Regions from separate parts of the Homo sapiens genome. Here regions 2 and 3 are each linked to region 1. The links are contacts of gene promoters, found by promoter capture Hi-C in blood cells and fetal thymus (Javierre and others, 2016). All regions are on one chromosome and are shown on one strand. The core of a region is centred on a gene start or on the middle of the fragment in contact, and the rest is flanking DNA. Distances in the headings are between cores, read along the strand shown.

The links. Contacts are between HindIII fragments. The CHiCAGO score rates a contact against its expected background, and 5 or more counts as called.
Region 2: a fragment that was not itself captured here is called in contact with the fragment with the promoter of ROR1 in region 1 in 5 of 17 cell types (naive B cells, megakaryocytes, endothelial precursors and 2 more); the score reaches 6.6 in naive B cells.
Region 3: a contact is called between a fragment that was not itself captured here and the fragment with the promoter of ROR1 in region 1, in 1 of 17 cell types (endothelial precursors). The highest score is 5.2, in endothelial precursors.

What each region holds. Positions count from the first base shown.
Region 1 is chr1:63,771,905-63,776,325 of GRCh38, forward strand. ROR1 (receptor tyrosine kinase like orphan receptor 1) reads left to right here and starts at 2,113. Exons shown (of 9, transcript NM_005012.4): 1 at 2,113-2,604. The coding sequence starts at 2,514. RefSeq lists silencers at 2,180-2,229, 3,014-3,308 and an enhancer at 3,174-3,737. The HindIII fragment of the contact is 6,004 bases long and covers 1-4,421 here.
Region 2 is chr1:64,104,947-64,109,367 of GRCh38, forward strand. All of the region lies in intron 4 of ROR1 (receptor tyrosine kinase like orphan receptor 1), which reads left to right. ROR1-AS1 (ROR1 antisense RNA 1) reads right to left here. Exons shown (of 6, transcript NR_110666.1): 5 at 3,374-3,447. Among named protein-coding and RNA genes, the nearest start is that of ROR1-AS1, 5.0 kb to the right of the region's middle. The HindIII fragment of the contact is 176 bases long and covers 2,475-2,650 here.
Region 3 is chr1:64,072,470-64,076,890 of GRCh38, forward strand. All of the region lies in intron 4 of ROR1 (receptor tyrosine kinase like orphan receptor 1), which reads left to right. Among named protein-coding and RNA genes, the nearest start is that of ROR1-AS1, 38 kb to the right of the region's middle. The HindIII fragment of the contact is 1,632 bases long and covers 1,024-2,655 here.

The DNA.
Region 1 (4,421 bases), core at 863-3,362:
GTGCCATTAAGTTCTGTATACTCAGCACTAGCAGCTGTCTGTTACCTAAGATACCTGGGCCTAGGAGTTATAGGGTGGGGGCTGGGGGCAGGGTGGGTGGATGAGAAAGGCTCCTTGTCTGACAACTGTGTGTATTGACTGTAGACAACAGAGGACTGCCCAGCACTGTGCAGTGTAACTGAGTATCCTCTGATTTCTGGGCTGTGATATACTAAGACTGACCATCAAAGACTGTTTCCCAACAAGAGAACCTTGTGCAGTAAGTTCCTCAGGCAAGAAGCGAGATAATTGGGACAGGATTGAATAGATCTCAGGCAGAGAAACTTGGGGGACAGATCAATGTAGGTAATGAACTGGTTGACCCAAGGCCTCTCTGTCTATCATTTTTTGACCTCAGGTCAGAGCGATAGAAAGGGGGAAAACTACCGACACAGCTCCTGCCATGAAGTCCTGGAGAAGAATAAGTGACTGTTTGTCCCGCATGGGTTAGTCATTCACCTGCCTGAAGGCAAAGGGCTGGGAGTCTGGAGTCCATGACCTGCTGGGACATACTTTGGGCTGCATTTTTTCCCCCTTCTAATGTCTCAGCTCTCAGGGATCTGCTTTTCCTGGTGCCAAGGAGTATGGATGAAATTTTGTCCCTCCTCCATGCACCCCTATAAAACAAATATGATGAGAAATTAATATTTTCCAAATGGTGACCTAACCTTTGTTCATTAATTGAGCTCCTATTGCATTCCAGGTACTGTTAGAGGCCAGCAAGATACCTAGATGATTGAGACAGAGTCCTCGCCCTCCATGAAGTGACTGTTCATTTTAAAACCCTAAAGCTGGGTTCTTAGAGGCTACTGCAACAGCAACAACTCCCGAGTGAGTGCTTATCATGTGCCAGGCTCTGGTTACAGGCTTTAACTCTCTCAGTGGAAACAGCCTGAGTGCTGGCTTGGCTACCCCATGTCTGTGAGACTGTGGGCAAGTCATTTACTTTCCCTTTGAGTTTCAATTTCTAAAACTGTAATATGGGGATAATATATGTAAAACAGCTAAGAAGTATATACTTTTAATGACTCTTTTTAGTGTCAATGGAGGATTTGTGAGCAAATGCATATAAAACACAAGGCAAACAGGAGGTATTTAGTAAGTGGCCACGTGATTATTGAGAGACTATGGGCTTCTTCCTGTTCCTCCAGAGCAAGACTGACAGGTGTCCTATTACCCTTGCATCTTCAGAGCCTAGAGCACAGCCCTGAAAACAGCAGGCGCTCACCACTTTTTATGATCAAAGGCAGTCTCTACAGGGAAAGTCAAATCATTATGGGTATTTATGAATTACAAAATCCATAAAGTTAAACCAGGAGAAATGGACAAAAACACACTCATTGTAGAGGTCTTTAATGATCCCTTGGCTCATGGCAGAGCAGCTAGACAAAAAACAAACAAACAAACAAACATGCAAAGATTCAGAAGGCCTGAAAAAATAATGAATACAAAGAAGATAAATCGATACAGTATTCTATCTTCACATTCGGAAGACAAAAACACCTTTCAAAAAACCATGGGACATTGGCAAAAATAACCACAGATAATCCTCAATAAATCTTGCCAGGAGGCAGTACAGATGACATTGAATTCAGTGAGACTACAAATTAAAGACAAAAAGGCGAAGTATAAATTACTTGTGTAAGAACTCTCTCAACTCTTGGGTCCAAGAAGAAAGCAAAAGGGAAATTGTATGATAGCAATAAATGTGCCATTACCCAGAGTCACACAGCTAACAGTGACACAGCTGAGGCTGCTAGAACCTGGGTCTACTGTCGTCCAGCCACGAACTGGCTTGAGATCCCGGATAAGTCTCTCTGAGCCTCGGTTTCCCCTTCTGTCAAGTAGCCTCGAAGGTCCCCGGCGCTCGGTTCGGTGGCGAGTTTGAGGAGTGTGGGGGAGGGGAGGGGAGGGAGCGTGCCCGAGACGCGGGAGCCGCGACCGCTTTCTGCGAAGTCGGGGAGGGTGCGGGCGTTGAGAGGCTGCAGCAGAGGGCGCTGGGTCGCCAGCCTGGGCCGCGTCTCCCATTGGTCGGGGCTGGGGCGCTGGGCTGGAGAGTTGGTGGAAAGTGACAAGTTGAGCGAGAGAGGGAGCGTGGAGAGCTGGAGCAGCCGCCACCGCCGCCGCCGAGGGAGCCCCGGGACGGCAGCCCCTGGGCGCAGGGTGCGCTGTTCTCGGAGTCCGACCCAGGGCGACTCACGCCCACTGGTGCGACCCGGACAGCCTGGGACTGACCCGCCGGCCCAGGCGAGGCTGCAGCCAGAGGGCTGGGAAGGGATCGCGCTCGCGGCATCCAGAGGCGGCCAGGCGGAGGCGAGGGAGCAGGTTAGAGGGACAAAGAGCTTTGCAGACGTCCCCGGCGTCCTGCGAGCGCCAGCGGCCGGGACGAGGCGGCCGGGAGCCCGGGAAGAGCCCGTGGATGTTCTGCGCGCGGCCTGGGAGCCGCCGCCGCCGCCGCCTCAGCGAGAGGAGGAATGCACCGGCCGCGCCGCCGCGGGACGCGCCCGCCGCTCCTGGCGCTGCTGGCCGCGCTGCTGCTGGCCGCACGCGGGGCTGCTGCCCAAGGTAAGAGGCGCCCGCCGGCCCCCGCCCGCCCAGACCCCCTGACCCGTGGCCACCCTTCCGCCGTCCAGCCGGGCGCGGGACACGCAGGAAGCGCCGCGCTGGCTCCGGGGCGCGTCCGGCCACCCGCCACGGGGCTCGCCGGCGCCGCCAGGCCAGGGTTTGCCCCGGAGCCCCGCCAGGCCAGGGTTTGCCCCGGAGCCCCGCGGCGGGCCGGGGCGCGCCCAGGGACTCGTTCCTCGGTGCGCAGCAGCGATTGTCAGCGCTGACAGGAAGCGTGGAGGGGTTTGAGGGTCCTGGGGGTGATCGGGGCACTTCTGTGCAGGGCGTCCCCCCTTGTCTCCCTGGACCTCTAGCGCGCCCCAGCCGGTGTTCAGGCAAGTCTATCCTGCCCCCAAGTTGCGAGCCGGCCCGGAAGGCGCGGTCCAGGAGGGAGTTTGGATTTTCAGTGGTGCTCGCCAGAGCCCAGGCGGCTCGCGGATCGACGCAAACAAAAGCCCTGTCCTCCTGGGGCTCCGGCGGCCTCGCATCGCCACCGCCCCCGGCCCTCCGGCCCTCCCGAGAGTCATCATAGAGGCCAAAACTTGTGCGCCGCTGCAGCCGCTGCCACTTTGTGCAAAATGTGCTGTCAGAGGCGGCCTGCGGCTCCAAAGTGCTTTGGGTGTGCACGCGCGCGCGCGCGCGTGTGTGTGTGCGTGTTACAAACAAGAGGGGGAAAAGCCATCTAATGCATATTTGATTTTGGTAATCTCTAAAGACAATCGCAACAGTTAGAGAAAGACTTCACCGCAAGCCGGAGCGTCTTAGTTCGCTGCGGGAAGCTGGGGTCCTTGCTGCGTCTGAGCCGGTACACAATGAGAGGGAAGAGCCCGGCTGAGCCTGTGGAGACAACCGATTCATTCTTTGGAGGTTGGAGGGGGAAAGTTGATTAAAGTCTCCGGGGTCTCGGGCCTCACTTTTAACATGCATCCCTTGAGGGGGTGAGGAGCCTTTGGATTCTGCCCTCCCCCACTCCCAGCCCTAAACCTGAGCGGATAAATAGATCTCTGCTCTTTTATCATGCATCTTTCATTTTTAAGTTAGCACTGTGTTTAGGAAAAGAAAAAGTTCTGCGCTACTTAGCAGTTGAGAGGAAAAAGATGTATTCACTACATAGACTACGAATGCAGAATTAGTTTTTACTAAAAGTTAGCTGACTTTCTTGGTAGAAAACACACTCTGGAAGGAAGTTGTGTGAAATTTTGATTTCTTAGAGATGGTTTTTGGAAGCTAGAGTAGCATTTTCTGAGGATGATTTCTGAAACGGATCCTATAATGTGGTCGTGCTAATCTGAAAGCTCCTGGGGGTAAATAGAGCTCCTAATTGTAATTAAGATGTGCATCAGCAGGGAGTGCACCTTCCTGATGAAAAATCCTAATGAAATGTAAACAGCTTGGTCACATAGATGTTTTGCTTGGTGATGCCAAACATCTGGCCTTGCGCCACAACACCTGGGTGAAAAGTAAAAATGGGCCATGCTGCCTAAGTAATGTAAACATCCTTCTCAAGTTGGGTTGCCCAGCAAATTGAGGTGGAGATAAGCAGGGTGATTTTAACTAAGGTGGGACTCCTGGCTTGGGGCTTTGGTTAATTCAGTTATTTCCCCTGTGGACTCCTTTACTTTGTACTTCACCTTTCAACAATAGTTGCTTTTAGATCATAGCCCCTTGTGGGGGTGGGGGTCACTTACCTTTAAATACATGTCCCTGCATTGATTTTGCTCACTGTAAACACCCTTCTTATCAGCAGCCACCCCAATTCTGTCTCCTTTAACTGTTTA
Region 2 (4,421 bases), core at 1,313-3,812, 330 kb after region 1:
AATATTTTATATTCCTTTGGGCATATACCCAGTAATGGGGCTGCTGGGTCAAATGTTATTTCTGGTTCTAGGTCCTTGAGGAATTGCTGTACTGTCTTCCACAATGGTTGAACTAATTTACGTTCCCATTAACAGTATAAAAGTGTTCCTATTTCTCCACAACCTCACTAGCATCTATTGTTTCTTGACTTTTTAATAATCGCCATTCTGACTGGTGTGAGATGGTATCTCATTGTGATTTTGATTTGCATTTCTCTAATGATCAGTGATATTGAGCTTTTTTCATGTTTCTTGGCCATGTAAATGTCTTCTTTTGAGAAGTGTCTGTTCATATTTTTCACCCACTTTTTGATGGGGTTATTTTTTTCTTGTCAATTTGTTTAAGTTCCTTATAGATGCTGGATATTAGACCTTTGTTGGATGGATAGATCGCAAAATTTTTCTCCCATTCTGTAGGTTGCCTGTTCACTCTGATGATAGCTTCTTTTGCTGTGCAGAAGCTCTTTAGTTTAATTACATCCCATTTGTCAATTATGGCTTTTGCTGCAATTGCTTTTGGCGTTTTCATTATGAAGTCTTTGCCCATGCCTATGTCCTGAATGGTATTGCCTAGGTTTTCTTCTAGGGTTTTTATGGTTTGGGGCTTTACATTTAAGTCTTTAATCCATCCTAAGTTAATTTTTGTATAAGGTATAAGGAAGGGTGATCCAGTTTCAGTTTTCTGCACGTGGCTAGACAGTTTTCCCAGAAACATTTAATGAATAGGAGATCATTTCCCGATCGCTTGTTTTTGTCAGGTTTGTCAAAGATCAGATGGTTTTAGATGTGTGGTGTTATTTCTGAGGTCTCTGTTCTGTTCCATTGGTCTATATGTTTGTTTTGGTACCAGTACCATGCTGTTTTGGTTACTGTAGCCTGTAGTATAGTTTGAAGTCAGGTAGCTTGATGCCTCCAGCTTTGTTCTTTTTGCTTAGGCTTGTCTTAGCTATACAGGGTCTTCTTTGATTCCATATGAAATTTAAAGTAGTTTTTTTTCTAATTCTGTGAAGAACGTCAATGGTAGCTTGATGAGGATAGCATTGAATCTATAAATTACGTTGGACAGTATGGCCATTTTCATGATATTGATTCTTCCTATCCATGAGGATGGAATGTTTTTCCATTTGTTTGTGTCCTCTCTTATTTCCTTGAGCAGTAGTTTGTAGTTCTCCTTGAAAAGGTCCTTCACATCCCTTGTTAGCTGTATTCCTAGGTATTTTATTCTCTTTGTAGCAATTGTGAATGGGACTTCATTCATGATTTGGCTCCCTGCTTGTCTATTGTTGGTGTAAAGGAATGCTTGTGATTTTAGCACATTGATTTTGTATCCTGAGACTTTGCTGAAGTTGCTCACCAGCTTAAGGAGTTTTTGGGGTGAGATGATGGGGTTTTCTAAATATACAATCATGTTGTCTGCAAATAGAGACAATTTGACTCTCTCTCTTCCTATTAGAATATGCTTTTTGTCTTTCTCTTGCCCGATTGCCCTGGCCAAAACTTCAATACTATGTTGAATAGAGTGGTGAGAAGAGGGCATCCTTACCTTGTACTAGTATTCAAAGGGAATGCTTCCAGCTTTTGCCCATTCAATATGATATTGGCTGTGGGTTTGTCATAAACAGCTCTTTTATTTTGAGATATGTTCCATCAATATCTAGTTTATTGAGTTTTTAACATGAAGGGATGTTGAATTTTATCAAAGGCCTTTTCTGCATCTACTGAGATAACCATGTGGTTTTTGTCTTTGGTTCTGTTTATGTGACGGATTATGTTTATTGATTTGCATATGCTGAGCCAGCTTTGCATCCCAGGGATGAAGCCAGCTTGATCGTGATGGATAAGTTTTTTGATGTGCGGGTAATAAATTCTTAGCACACGGGTACAGTCTTTTGTTTCACTTTGTTTTCCTCGTTATTCTGTAAACCTGCCAGTTTATGCACGTCAAAGGTCTAGAAGACCTTGCCAGTTCCTCTGTCCAGAGTCCCCACCCTGCCACTGAGGAGTAGCATGCAGTTTCACAAGTCGTGTTACCCCAAGAGCTTCGGTTTCCTCATCTGTAAAACAAGGATGATAACACTTTCCTCACATGATTGTTGAAATGATCATAGAGTAATAATAATAGTCAGAGGTACAATTTATTATGTGTGTTATGTACTGGGCGTTATATTAAGTGCTCTACACGTATTATCTCATTTAATTTTTAGAATAACCTTTTCAGTAGTTGTTGCCCCCATTTTGCAGACGACAAAAGTGAGGCACTGAGAGGTTGTGTAATTTACTTGAGTGCAGGTGGTCAGTAAGTAGCAGAGCCAGCATTTGAACTTAGAATGTCTGGCTCTAAGCCTCAGACTCTCTTAACCACAAAGCTCTCTGTCAAGTGCTATACAAATGTGAGAATTATTATGAGCAATGATAGCTAGTTTAGGTGATTAAAAAGCTTTATGTGCTTCAGAGAGTTTTCACAGGGTAATCATCATAAATTCCTTTTTCATCGTCTTTGCTGTTCCATCCTTGTGATCATTATGCAGTACCTATTATGTTTCACCTTTGTGTTTTTTTCTTTCTTTTCACAAGTTTAAATAAGGGAACTAGGGGTCTTTTTTTTAAGTCAAGCTTTGTTAATAGATTTTCAGAATGCACATTAAAGTGCCAGAAATTGAGTGCTTTTCTGATTAGTAAAGATTGTATTGGTTTTTTTTTTTAACAATTCACTTTTTAGATTTCTATTTTAAGCCCACTTAGAGCTGATTACAATAACCCCTATTTATAAATAGAATTTTACTGGGCCTCACCTCTGACGTATTTTCAAATTCAGTCTCACTCACTCTAAGTAAAATAATCATTCATCAAGTGAAGGTAGGGTAGAATAAGAGCATATTTCTGCAGCTACCTCTGTGTTCTGAGGGAGCCAGCCATAAATATTCAGCATCGGTGGTCAGAGTTTGGCTCTGCATTAAATCATAATCATTTTACTGGTGAATAAATGACATGTTTAATTATTTTATATGGATGTATAAATTTTGGTCTTGATCTGGGCAGCATATTTTTAACATCTGGATTTTTTTGTTTTCTTGTTGTGTGTGTGTGTGTGTGTGTGTGTGTGTGTGTGTGTGTTTAAATCACTGTTTAGGCTGGGCATGGTGGCTCATGCCTGTAATCTCAGCACTTTGGGAGACCAAGGTGGGTGGATGGCCTGAGGTCAGGAGTTCAAGACCAGCCTAGCCAACATGGTGAAACCCCATCTCTACTAAAAATACAAAAATTAGCCAGGCATGGTGGTACATGCCTGTAATCCCAGCTACTAGGGAGGCTAAGCCAGGATAATCACTTGAACCTGGGAGGCAGAGGTTGCAGTGAGCCGAGATCACACCACTTTACTCCAGCATGGGCGACAGAGTGAGACTCCATCTAAAAAAAAAAAAAAAAAAAAAAAAAAAAAAAAAAAAAATCACTGTTTAGCTTTAAGTGCTAGGACACAAAATGTGAAGTCACTGTGGTCTTTAAAAATCTCAATTAACCAGAACATTCAAATTGCTGGGTGTATTCAACACTCCACTTCTGGGATAAAGAGTTAAGTGACAAGGGCAGAGCTGGCCGTGGGAATCACTATGGGGCTCCCAGTGCCTAGGCAAGTCAGGTTGAGTGAGCCTCCACTCCACCCATCACATAACACACACACACACCAATACAACATTCTACAACAAAAAGTTAGCAAAAGAGTGTTCAGCAATGACAGTCTAAAATGGAAAAGTCAGAGAGATGAAGTCTCAAAGGGACATTCTGTATTCTGGAGATTATGTGTAGAGAGATACAGAAGAAAGTCATTTGGCAACAAGTTTCAACAAGCTTCTGTTATATGGGTCACCCTTACAGGGTCGTAAGCATCCCTTGGGGGATTGTTAAAAATAATGTTTAGGACCCTGTCCTAGTCCTACTAAATCCAAATCTCCAGAAAACCCAGGGAAAATGATTTATTTAAAGGGCCACAGGTATCTTGGACACACCCCAGAGCTACTGAATCACAGTCTCTAGAGCTTGGGCCAGGAATCGGAATGCAAAAGAAGCTCCACAGGTACTTCTGATACAAACCCCCGGCTTAGATCTCTGGGGGTGGTTCCTGGCAATCTGCATCTTTAGTCCATCCTCTAGGTGTGTCTTACAGACACCCCAGTTTGAGAGACATGGCATCAACTATTGTTCTGAGTTTTATCAGAGCAGAGGTAGCCAAATCTTCTAGACCTTATAGATCAGCTCCGATGCACAAGATTGGCATGAAAACAGCTTACATTAAAGTTTACTTAAAAATTACACATTTCCTATTAATTTTAATCTTCACAGTCTTATGAGGCTGCTGTAGCTGGAATTATAAGTGAAGAAAATGA
Region 3 (4,421 bases), core at 590-3,089, 300 kb after region 1:
GACAGCCTGATTTCCCATGTATTGTGTACCAGATGAGACATAAGGGATTGTGAAGGCAAATGAAAAGCAGGATATTGTTTACTGGGGCCAATATAAATATGTTTGTGGGGAGAGGAGAACAAAGACCTCAAAGCCTGTTGTTGACAGAAACCACGCTAGTGTTTAATACATGACGTCATCCTAGTAAAAATAATAGTTCCCACAGGTCTGCCAGGGAATGGGAGAGCCGGGGTTATCTGTACCCACACATGCCAGGAACCTCAGGGGTGCTGGCAACTGGTATATGATCCTGACCCAGCTTCCAACTAGCTCCATGGCATGTCTGAGGGAGGGGCTTCGTGGATAGTATCCTACTCTGAGTTCCAAACACACAGATCCCAACGTCTGGATTCCACCTCTGCTAGACACCAGCTTGTAGCAGAGACCTTAGCTGGGAGCCTGGTTTTTCCCAAATGTAAATTCAGATAAGAATTCAACCCCTACTAGAGTAGTTGTGATGAAAAAACAAGATAAATAAAATAAACAAGATTTAAAGGAAATGCTAACTGCAAGAGAGCCTTTGGTATTCATGGTAGCCTCACCCACTTCTGTGTGCTCCTCTCTCACCTATGCAGAAGCATTGAAATTCCAGGCTTCATCTCCAGTCTCACCACCCTGAACCCCTACTTTGCTTAGCTTCCCTCCTCTATGTAAATTTGTTTTATTTATTTAGGCCTTTTGTAAGGTGTGTGAAGGTATCTGGGCTAAGAGAGTGGAAGGTCAGTGAACCCCTGAGAAAATACTAGCCACTTGGGGGTCCTCATTCTTGCCCAATCAGTCAGAAGATCCAACTACTCCTCTGTGTGCCCCTTCCTGCTCCATGTGCTCCTTTATTTTACCCATTTTTCTCCATGGTAAATGCAAGTGTAAGGCTTTGAAGGCACAGGGGAGCCTCTACAAGCCCTGAGTGGAAATTCGCAGCCAGTATGTGAAAGCATGACTTCAATTTTTTGAAGACTGGGCCCTAAGAACTGGACATGATGAAGCTTACCAGTTTGCCAATCTTCACCTTCTGTTTTCTTCCCCTGAGAGTTTCCACTAGAAATTCCCCAGCTTTGGTTTGAGTGCTTGGCTCTGTAATCTTGGAGACACTCTGCATACACCCCACAATTAAGACATCGCAACTCCATGCAATGTTTCTTCAGAGAAAGTTAGATGCAATTAGATCATTTGAAGATGGATTAGCCTGCCATCTGCACAATATTAAGAAAAATCATGTTGGCAAATGATGGGGCCTCTTTGAAGAGCTCTGAAGGAAAGCCACTAATGGGCTCTACACTGGGTTTCCCCCCTGTTCCCGAAGGGTTAACACAATGTGTGGGAAAGGAAAAAAAAATCCCCTGTGGCATTAAAATGCTGTGTCAGAGATTTGTAAGCTCCCCTTTGTAGCTCTGCCCTGGGGCCTGGCTCACTTCAGTGGAGATGAGGTTAATAAGACCTCTGTTGCTGCTTGGCAGTTCTTAACGGGGTTACAGTCTGGTGCCTGACCAGTGAAGGACAGTTATTATTAAAGTGCTGAGGAATTTAATTCAATAAGGTCAGGGACATCTGCTGTGCTTGCTTGCCCAATGTCCATTTATTCTTCTTTTTACAAGAACTGCTTGCTTTTCCTTTGCGGAAAACCACCTCATGCCCATTCTGTCTAGGTGGAGCTGACCCTTACCTAAATCAGGGTGGCCACATGACCAAGCCAGCCCAGTTAGTGTATTTGGGTATCCAACCGTGCCCCAAAGTCACTGGACTTGTCAGTTACATAAGCCTATAAACACCTTTACCCCTCAACCCTCATTTTTCTTTTTCAGCTTCTGCAAGGTGGAGTAGCTACATTAACTATTTAAGGGATTAAATGGCATGAAGTATAATTAGATAGAAACTAAACTCTGTGGGAAGTCAAGAGAGGGAGAGGTTGATGTGGGTGGGTGGGCTTCCTGGCAGAGGCTGAACTTGAACTGATCTTAAAGGATGGAGAGGATTAGGTGAGACCAAGAGAATGCAGAACTCTGTGCAAGGCACAGAGGGAGGGAGAACTCAGTTAAAATGAAGATCTGTGGACAAGAAATGAAAAGTGGGTTTTGACAAATAGAGGCAGGGAAAATGCCAGAGGACTTGGAATCCCAGGATGAGAAGTTTGAACTTACCTGGATAGTTCCCCAGTGTGGACTTATGTATGGGTGGGGAAAATCCACACCAGATTGTGCTACCAGTTTGGGCAAGTATATGACTCTATGCCTTACCTGTGTTAGAGACTGGCACAGGTGCAGGCAGGGCACTAACCTTGGCTCCGCCACTTAATAACTGAGCAACAATGGGGGAGTTACTTAACCTCCAAATCTCAATTTTTTTCCATCTGCACAATGAAGATAAATAATAACCTGACATTCAGTGTTTGTGAGGATAAAATGAGATAACCTACGTGGGAGCCCTTAGGATAGTACCTGGCACATGATAATAATAGTAGATAATATCTGTTGAGTGCTTATTAGTGTTCCCGAGGCACTGTGCTAAGCTCCTGACATACCTTATCTCATTTAATCCTCCCAATAGCCAGTGCTTTAAAAATGTTGGCTGAATCCGATTTGGGGTAACCTTGTCATTCCTGTGCTTGATCAAACAATAAGCTTATCAGACATTTACTGTCCAATGAGAGCTGAATACATAATCTGAATATTCAAGTTCTAATTTCTTAATACACACCCTAAAATGTTTTAAATTTAATAAAATTACACTTCAGAACATCTAGAGAATAGAGTAAAAAAAATGTACATATAACTTCACTAACCACAACAGAACCATGTTTTTCTAATATAGAGGGGGTTAAGATTATCTGCTTTTAGGCCCACCAGATCACCACAGTGTGATCTGGGGCAAGTTACTTTATCTTCTCTCAGCCTTAGTTTCCTCATCTGTCCTTATACGATGTTTCTAGAAGCTTCTTCATAGGGGTTTTTTGTTTTGTTTTTGGCAAGGTTTAAGAGTGATAATTCATGCTGTATGGAGCATCTGACACATAATACACCATCAATGTTAGCTCCTATGAATGCCTCCAGTCACTGTCCTATACATTTTCCCTGTGATTGCAATAACCGTGTATATGCAGTTGCATCCTTATTTTTTCACTTAACACTGTATCTCAGGCATCTTTATAAGTAACAAGATCTCCCTGTCCCTCATTCCTAATGTATATGTTCTCCTAAAATCACTTTAAGTGTATCAACTTGCTCTTGCTTCATCTTTTAAAAACATGTATAAGTAATGCTACACTCCACACCTTTACGCTTAATGGCTCTAAGAGTTCACGTTTCAGTGCACCATCTCTTTGAGTTCAAATTATGGTTCTGCCCACACCTTTTCAGAATGTGGTGAGAATGAATGACACCCAAGTCAGGAAAGGCCTTTGACAAATTGCAGATTATGCTGGCTTGATAAGTGACCACAGGAAAGTATGATTGTCACTTTTCCAGCAGTGGGTTTCCTCCAGTGTGATATTCTGTGCCTCACCTATCAAGAGGTGTTACTGTGGGTCTTCCTGTCAGCTCAGTTCTCCTACCCTTCTTGCTGACAGAGGAAGAAGAATCCCACTACCTTTTAGCTGGAGGTTATTCTCCTGATCTCACTGAATCTTATTTCTTGGAGTAGCAAGGAATCTGCAAAACAATTTGAGGCTGTCTTTCTGTTGCAAATCAAAGCCCCAACCTCTTATTTGGGTCTTAGAGCAAGAGTTCCCCAAGTACTTTGAAATTGGACCCTTCTGTACACACCTGGAGTCACCAGTAAGCCTTGCCCATAGATTCCCTGGTGGATGGACACACAAAGCTAAGGGCAAAGGTGACCTTTTCATTTCTTCTTCAGGTCCTACAATGCCTTTGAAATCTTTATGATCTGCACCTTCAGGGATTATACAAACAGCTTGAGGAAATCCTAAAATTGTGTTTTCTCCAGATAAGCATCCAGGTCAAAGGAAAGACCTCTGCATGCCTTCCTGATAGAAAGAAACTTGCCTCAATTTAGAGAATGCCACCAAGAACAAAATTGGCATGCAGCCATTTGTGCAGTGCATTAAAAACCAGTTTACAAATAGTGGTACAATTCTGGAAGTGTCAGACCTCATAGTGTGGTGTAGTGGAAGTCCACAGACTATTTACCATATTTCAAATGTCTTACTGTTTTTAAACAGCAGCACAGGATAACCAGAGTAACACATTTCTTTGTTTCTGTCTCGAATAACATCAATTAAGTAAAAATAAAATTTATTATCATGCAAGTTATAAGCTTTCCTTGGCAATTATATTTTGATATATTTATATGCTAATTTTAACAAATTTTGGTTAACATATCTTACAGCAGTATTTTTTATATTAATAATGGTAAGAGGAACAGTTACT